Regions from separate parts of the Homo sapiens genome. Here region 1 is linked to region 2. The links are contacts of gene promoters, found by promoter capture Hi-C in blood cells and fetal thymus (Javierre and others, 2016). All regions are on one chromosome and are shown on one strand. The core of a region is centred on a gene start or on the middle of the fragment in contact, and the rest is flanking DNA. Distances in the headings are between cores, read along the strand shown.

Region 1 (2,700 bases), core at 100-2,599, 130 kb after region 2:
AGCTGCAACAAGTTTTCCAGAAGATCTAGTTAATTAAGATCATTGATGAAGACAGGAGCACTAAACAACAAATTTTCAATGTAGACTAAACAGTCTTCTATTGGAAGAAGATGCCATCTAAGACTTTTCATAGCTAGAGAGAAGACATCAATGTCTGGCTTCAAAGCTTCAAAGGATAGGCTGACTCTCTTGCTAGGGGCTGATGCAGCTGGTGTCTTTAAGCTGAAGCCAGTGCTCACTTGCCATTCTGAAAATCTTAGCGTCCTTAAGAATTATGCTGAATCTATTCTGCCTGTGCTCTAGAAATGGAACAACAAAGCCTGAATGACTACACAACTGCTTACAGCATGGTTTACTGAATATTTTAAGCCCGCCGTTGAGACCTACTGCTCAGAAGAAAAGATTCCTTTCAAAATATTACTGCTCATTGACAATGCACTTGGTCACCTATAAGCTCTGAGGGAGATGTGCTAGGAGATAAATGTCGTGTCCCTGCCTGCTAACACGATCACCATTCTCTGCCCATGGATCAAGGACTAATTTCTACTTTCAAGTCTTATTATTTAAGAAATAGATTTAATAAGGCTATAACTGCCATAGATAGTGATTCCTCTGATGGATCTGGGCAAGGAAAATTGAAAACGTCTGGAAAGGATTCACCATTCTAAATGCCATTAGAAACATTCGTGATTCATGGGAGGAGATCAAAATAATAACATTAAGAGGAGTTTGGAAGAAGTTGATTCCAGTCTTCATGGATGACCTTGAGGGGTTGAAGACTTTAGTGGAGGAAGTCACTGCAGATGTGGTGGAAATGCAAGAGAAATAGAAGATGGGACTGAACTGCAATTTCATGATCAAACTTGAAAGGATGAGGAGTTGCTTCTTTTGGATGAGCAAAGAACGTGGTTTCTTGACATGGAAACTACTCTTGATGAAGAAGCTATGAACACTGTTAAAACGACAACAAAGCATTTAGAATATTACATAAGCTTAGCTGACAAAGCAGTGGCAAGGTCTGAAAGGACTGACTCCAATTTTCAAAGAAGTTCTACTCTGGGTAAAATTCTATCAAACAGCATCACATGCTACAGAAAAATCTTTTTGTGAAAGGAAGAGTCAGGGGAAGGGCAGGGGTAGAAAAAAATTAAAAAAGAAGAGTCGATGGATACAGCAAACTTCATTACTGTCTTATTTTAAGAAATTCCACAGCCACCCCAACCTTCAGGAACCACCACCCTGATCAGTCAGCAGCCACCAACATCGAGGCAAAACCCTCCACCAAAGGAAGATTACAACTCCATGAAGGCTCAGATAATTGTTACCATTGTTTAGCAATAAAGTATTTTTAATTAATACAGTACATTTTATACATAATGCTATTGCACACTAAATGGACTACAGTATAGAAACATAACTTTTATATGCACTGGGAAACCACAAAAATGTGTGACTCACTTTATTGCAATATTTGCCTTATTGCAGTAATCTGGACTGAACCCACAACATCTCTGAGGTATCCCTGTAGACAGAGGACAGAATGGGAGAACACGCTTGCAATATCCAAAGCTGACAAGGGACTAGTGCCTAGAAAATTCAAGGAACTCATGCAAATCAAGAGGAAAAAGACAGAAAGTGGAAAAAGGGATAAGATGTAGATAGGCAATTCATAGAAGAAGACACCCCAAAGAGCACCAAACAAGAAGAGAAGCTTAGCTTCATCCGAAATCAGAGAAGCGCAGATGAAAACCATGTTCCTTTGCATCCGTTCATGGCTGGGTCCCTGCCAGAGCAGCCTGGACCAAGTACTGGAGCTGGACTCAGGACAGCCCATGGATGAGGCTGCCAGCAACAGAGGAGTTGTCTTGTCTAGCTCAGAAAGATTTTTTTATTGGGAATCTGTTTGGCAAATTGAAAATTAGATTAGTGAGTTAGAAGGGAAGAAAGATAAGAGGGAGAGCCAGAGCAAGAGGGCCCGGGAGGGTGCAGGGCGGAGTGGGGGGCGCTGGGCGTGGGCACACGCTGGAGCATCCAGTGGGGGCTGTGGGAGGTGAAAGCCAGGGCCCCAGAGAGGAGACTCAAGAGATGCTGGGAGAGCGGCCACCAGTCCTGGGCCACTTCAGTGTTTCTCAGCTCTGCTCTTGGATTTTTAATATAATTTTGTTACTGGGGGAGGGTGTCCAGGTTCTTGGCATTTTGAACAAAGAATTGGACAAAACATACAAACAAAGCAAGGAAAGAATGAAGCAACAAAACCAGAGACTTATTGAAAAGGAAAGTACACACCACAGGGTGGGAGTGGGTCCAAGCAGTGGTTCAAGGGCCCTGGATAGAGAATCTACTCAGGTCTAAATACCCCGTAGAGCTTTCCCATGGGCCACACTTCATGCTCACCCCATGTAAATGAAGAGGTGGCCCGCAACCAATCAGAGGCTGAAATGAAGCTACAAAGTTACTCTCTTCTTCAAACATCTGATTGGTTGCAGAAAGCAACCAATCAGAAGTACTTGCAATTTCCCATCTCCGGGGCACAGAAAAGGTGGGGGTTTGCAACGGGAGTAGCCTCTGGTCCTTTTGTTACTTAGGCATGGAAAGAGGGTTTTCCTTTCAGTCTAGTTCCAGGAAGTCAGCGTGAAACGGCCTAGGTTCCCTGCCTCCAGACCCTATTCTCCTGCCTCAATTTTGCTGGCTATCTTCAGG
Region 2 (2,700 bases), core at 9-2,508:
GGGCGAATCTGTTCCTCCATCCTTGAGTTGGGGCAGCTGTGCTCAACAGAAATGCAGCAGAAACCACACCACCTGACTTCTGGGTTAGGTGAGAAGGAACCTCGCAGTTCCTCCTGGATCTCTTGTAATGTCTGCCGCGGGTGAAACCAGCTGCCACGTTAGGAATCTGCACCAAGACCACCATGTTATGAGGAAGCTCAAGCCAGCCACGTGGAGAGGCTGCACGGATGGAGAAACAGCTGCACGGCCAGCCCCAGGGAGTGATGTGAGAGTGAAGGAGCCTCTAGGATGTGCCAGGCTCAGCTGCCACCTGACTTTTCAAATAGGAGGAACCCCCAGTGAGAACTCAGCTGAGCCAGATGACTCCTAAATCCATGAAAGATGATTTCAAATCATATTTTTAAGTTTTGGGGTGGTTTGTTATGTAGCAATAGGTGATCTTGTGACTATGTAACCCTGGGAAAGTTACTTCATTTCTCTGTTTTTTAATCTAAAAACTGGGAATCATGGGAGTTCCTACTGGAAAATGAGTTAACATATAGAAGTATAGAACCACATATGAGTTAACAAAGACATGGCTGTGATGCCTGGGACTCATTTGGAAAACATGAGTTATCACTTTAAAATGCTTCACTGAGTTTAGAGGCAATATACTATGATTACTGAACCCAGGGACACTACAGATTCTTCCTTCTCAGAGCTTTGATGAGAGGAAAGAGGCAGATTCCACCTTACCTTCAGGTTTGCCAAGATCCTTCCCCAACGTACAAGTGAAAGGGAGCTCAGGAAGGCAGAATGAAGGGACACATCAAATCCTTGGTGACAAAGTTTAGGACAGGCTGGGCACAGTGGCTCACGCCTATAGTCCAAGCATTTTGGGAGGCCAAGGCAGGCTGATCACCTGAGGTCAGGAGTTCTAGACCAGCCTGGCCAAACCTGTCTCTACTAAAAATACAAAAATTAGCTGGGCGTGGTGGTGGCCGCCTGTAGTCCCAGCTACTCAGGAGGCTGAAGCAGGAGAATCGCTTGAACCCGGGAAGCGGAGGTTGCAGTGAGCCAGGATCCCACCACTGCACCCCAGCTTGGGCGACAGAGCGAGACTCCGTCTCAACAACTATGACAACAACAAACAGTTTGGGACAGAGAAAAATCCCTGTAAACTTCAAGCCTTTTGGGGTGCTCTTGGGTGAACTCCTAAATTGCTCAAGGGCTAACTTCCTCATTTATTATTAAAAGAAAAAAGAAAAAGGCAGAGGCCAGTGGTGAAGGCTGGCGATTTCTGGTCTAGGGTGAGAGATAACAGAAAGTAACAATGGAGGCTCTCGCAGTGCTCGCAGGCACTCAAGGAACGGAAAGGAAATTGCACATTTCACCCGTGACTGCATAGGCAAACGAGAACAGCAAGTCTCTGCTTTCAGCTGGAATGTTATCAACTTCGGTCACGCTGATTATCTCAGGCTGATCAGGAAGGCTGGTACCAGGAGTGAGTGACTAAATGAAGAAATTACTAATTAACAAATGCTTGGGTGGACAATCCTTCAAAATTTAGGATCAATGGGAGGAGACAGAAGGAGTCTTGGGAGGATTTTTAAAATATGCCAGAGCTGGCTGGGTACAGTGGCTCACACCTGTAACCTGAGGACTTTGAGGTGGAGACGGGCAGACCACCTGAGCTCAGGAGCTCAAGACCAGCCTGGGCAACATGGCAAAACCCTGTCTCTACTAACACTATAAAAAGTTAGCTGGGCGTGTTGGTGCATGCTGTAGTCCCAGCTACTCAGGAGGCTGAGCCACGAGAATCGCTTGAACCTGGGAGATGGAGGTTGAAGTGAGCCAAGATCGCACCATTGCACTCCAGCCTGGGGAAAAAAAAAAGCCAGGCCTCCTAATGTACTCATTTAAACATCACTTGTGTCCACCTGGGTTCAGAATTGCGCTGGACATGGGATACACAAAGGTAAGACATGGACCCACCCTCAAGTCTGAAGGTGGAGGTGGGGAAGGGCAGAGGCTGTAAAGGGTCAGAGGGACCTTGTGGAGTGGTGGAAATGTTCCAGATCACACTGTGGCGGTGGTCACATGACTGTGCACACTTACGACAACCCATCTAATTGTATACTGTCAGTCAAAGGGCATTATATGTAAATCACACCTCAATAAAGCTGACCAAAAAGTGGCCAGTCAGCCACCAGCAGACCCATGGGATAGGGGAAGAAAAACAAGCAATCTACAGAACGTGGGAAAATGCCTATATTAAGAATCCTGGAATACTCCATGTGCTTTTTCATGCAGCGGGAGTGGAATTTTCAGGAAGCAGCTGTGCTGTGGGTGACGGTCATACTTTATTCTCTAAAACTCTCCAGTTTCAATTGGCCTCTTGGTGCCAAAGCACCATGGCGTGTTACACCTATCAGATCGGGCACACTGCCCCTTCTTCCCAACCTACGAGCTGAAATGGCCAGCACTGCGCCTTCCAGAACCCAGCGTAGATGCACAGCTGCCACGGAGGTAGGAAGAATGATTCGTTTGCCACCAAAAGCCCAGTTTCTCCAACAGGTAAGTCCCAGCAGGGTGCGATGTCCCAAACCTACACAACCGTTTCCACTGCCTATTCCCGGGCCCCTCACTTGGGTCAAGGCAGCATTTCAGAGGAAGCCAGGAGCGAGAACTCGTGCATCCGAACCCTTCTCTGACTTGGCG

Evidence for each region. Contacts are between HindIII fragments. The CHiCAGO score rates a contact against its expected background, and 5 or more counts as called.
Region 1: a contact is called between a fragment that was not itself captured here and the fragment with the promoter of PRKAG2-AS2 in region 2, in 4 of 17 cell types (monocytes, M1 macrophages, M0 macrophages and 1 more). The highest score is 9.7, in monocytes.

Annotation. Positions count from the first base shown.
Region 1 is chr7:151,938,753-151,941,452 of GRCh38, forward strand. No RefSeq gene overlaps it. Among named protein-coding and RNA genes, the nearest start is that of GALNTL5, 16 kb to the right of the region's middle. The HindIII fragment of the contact is 719 bases long and covers 991-1,709 here.
Region 2 is chr7:151,805,080-151,807,779 of GRCh38, forward strand. It overlaps PRKAG2-AS2 (PRKAG2 antisense RNA 2), which reads left to right and starts at 1,259. Exons shown (of 3, transcript NR_171033.1): 1 at 1,259-1,957; 2 at 2,293-2,556. All of the region lies in intron 1 of PRKAG2 (protein kinase AMP-activated non-catalytic subunit gamma 2), which reads right to left. The HindIII fragment of the contact is 22,647 bases long and covers 1-2,700 here.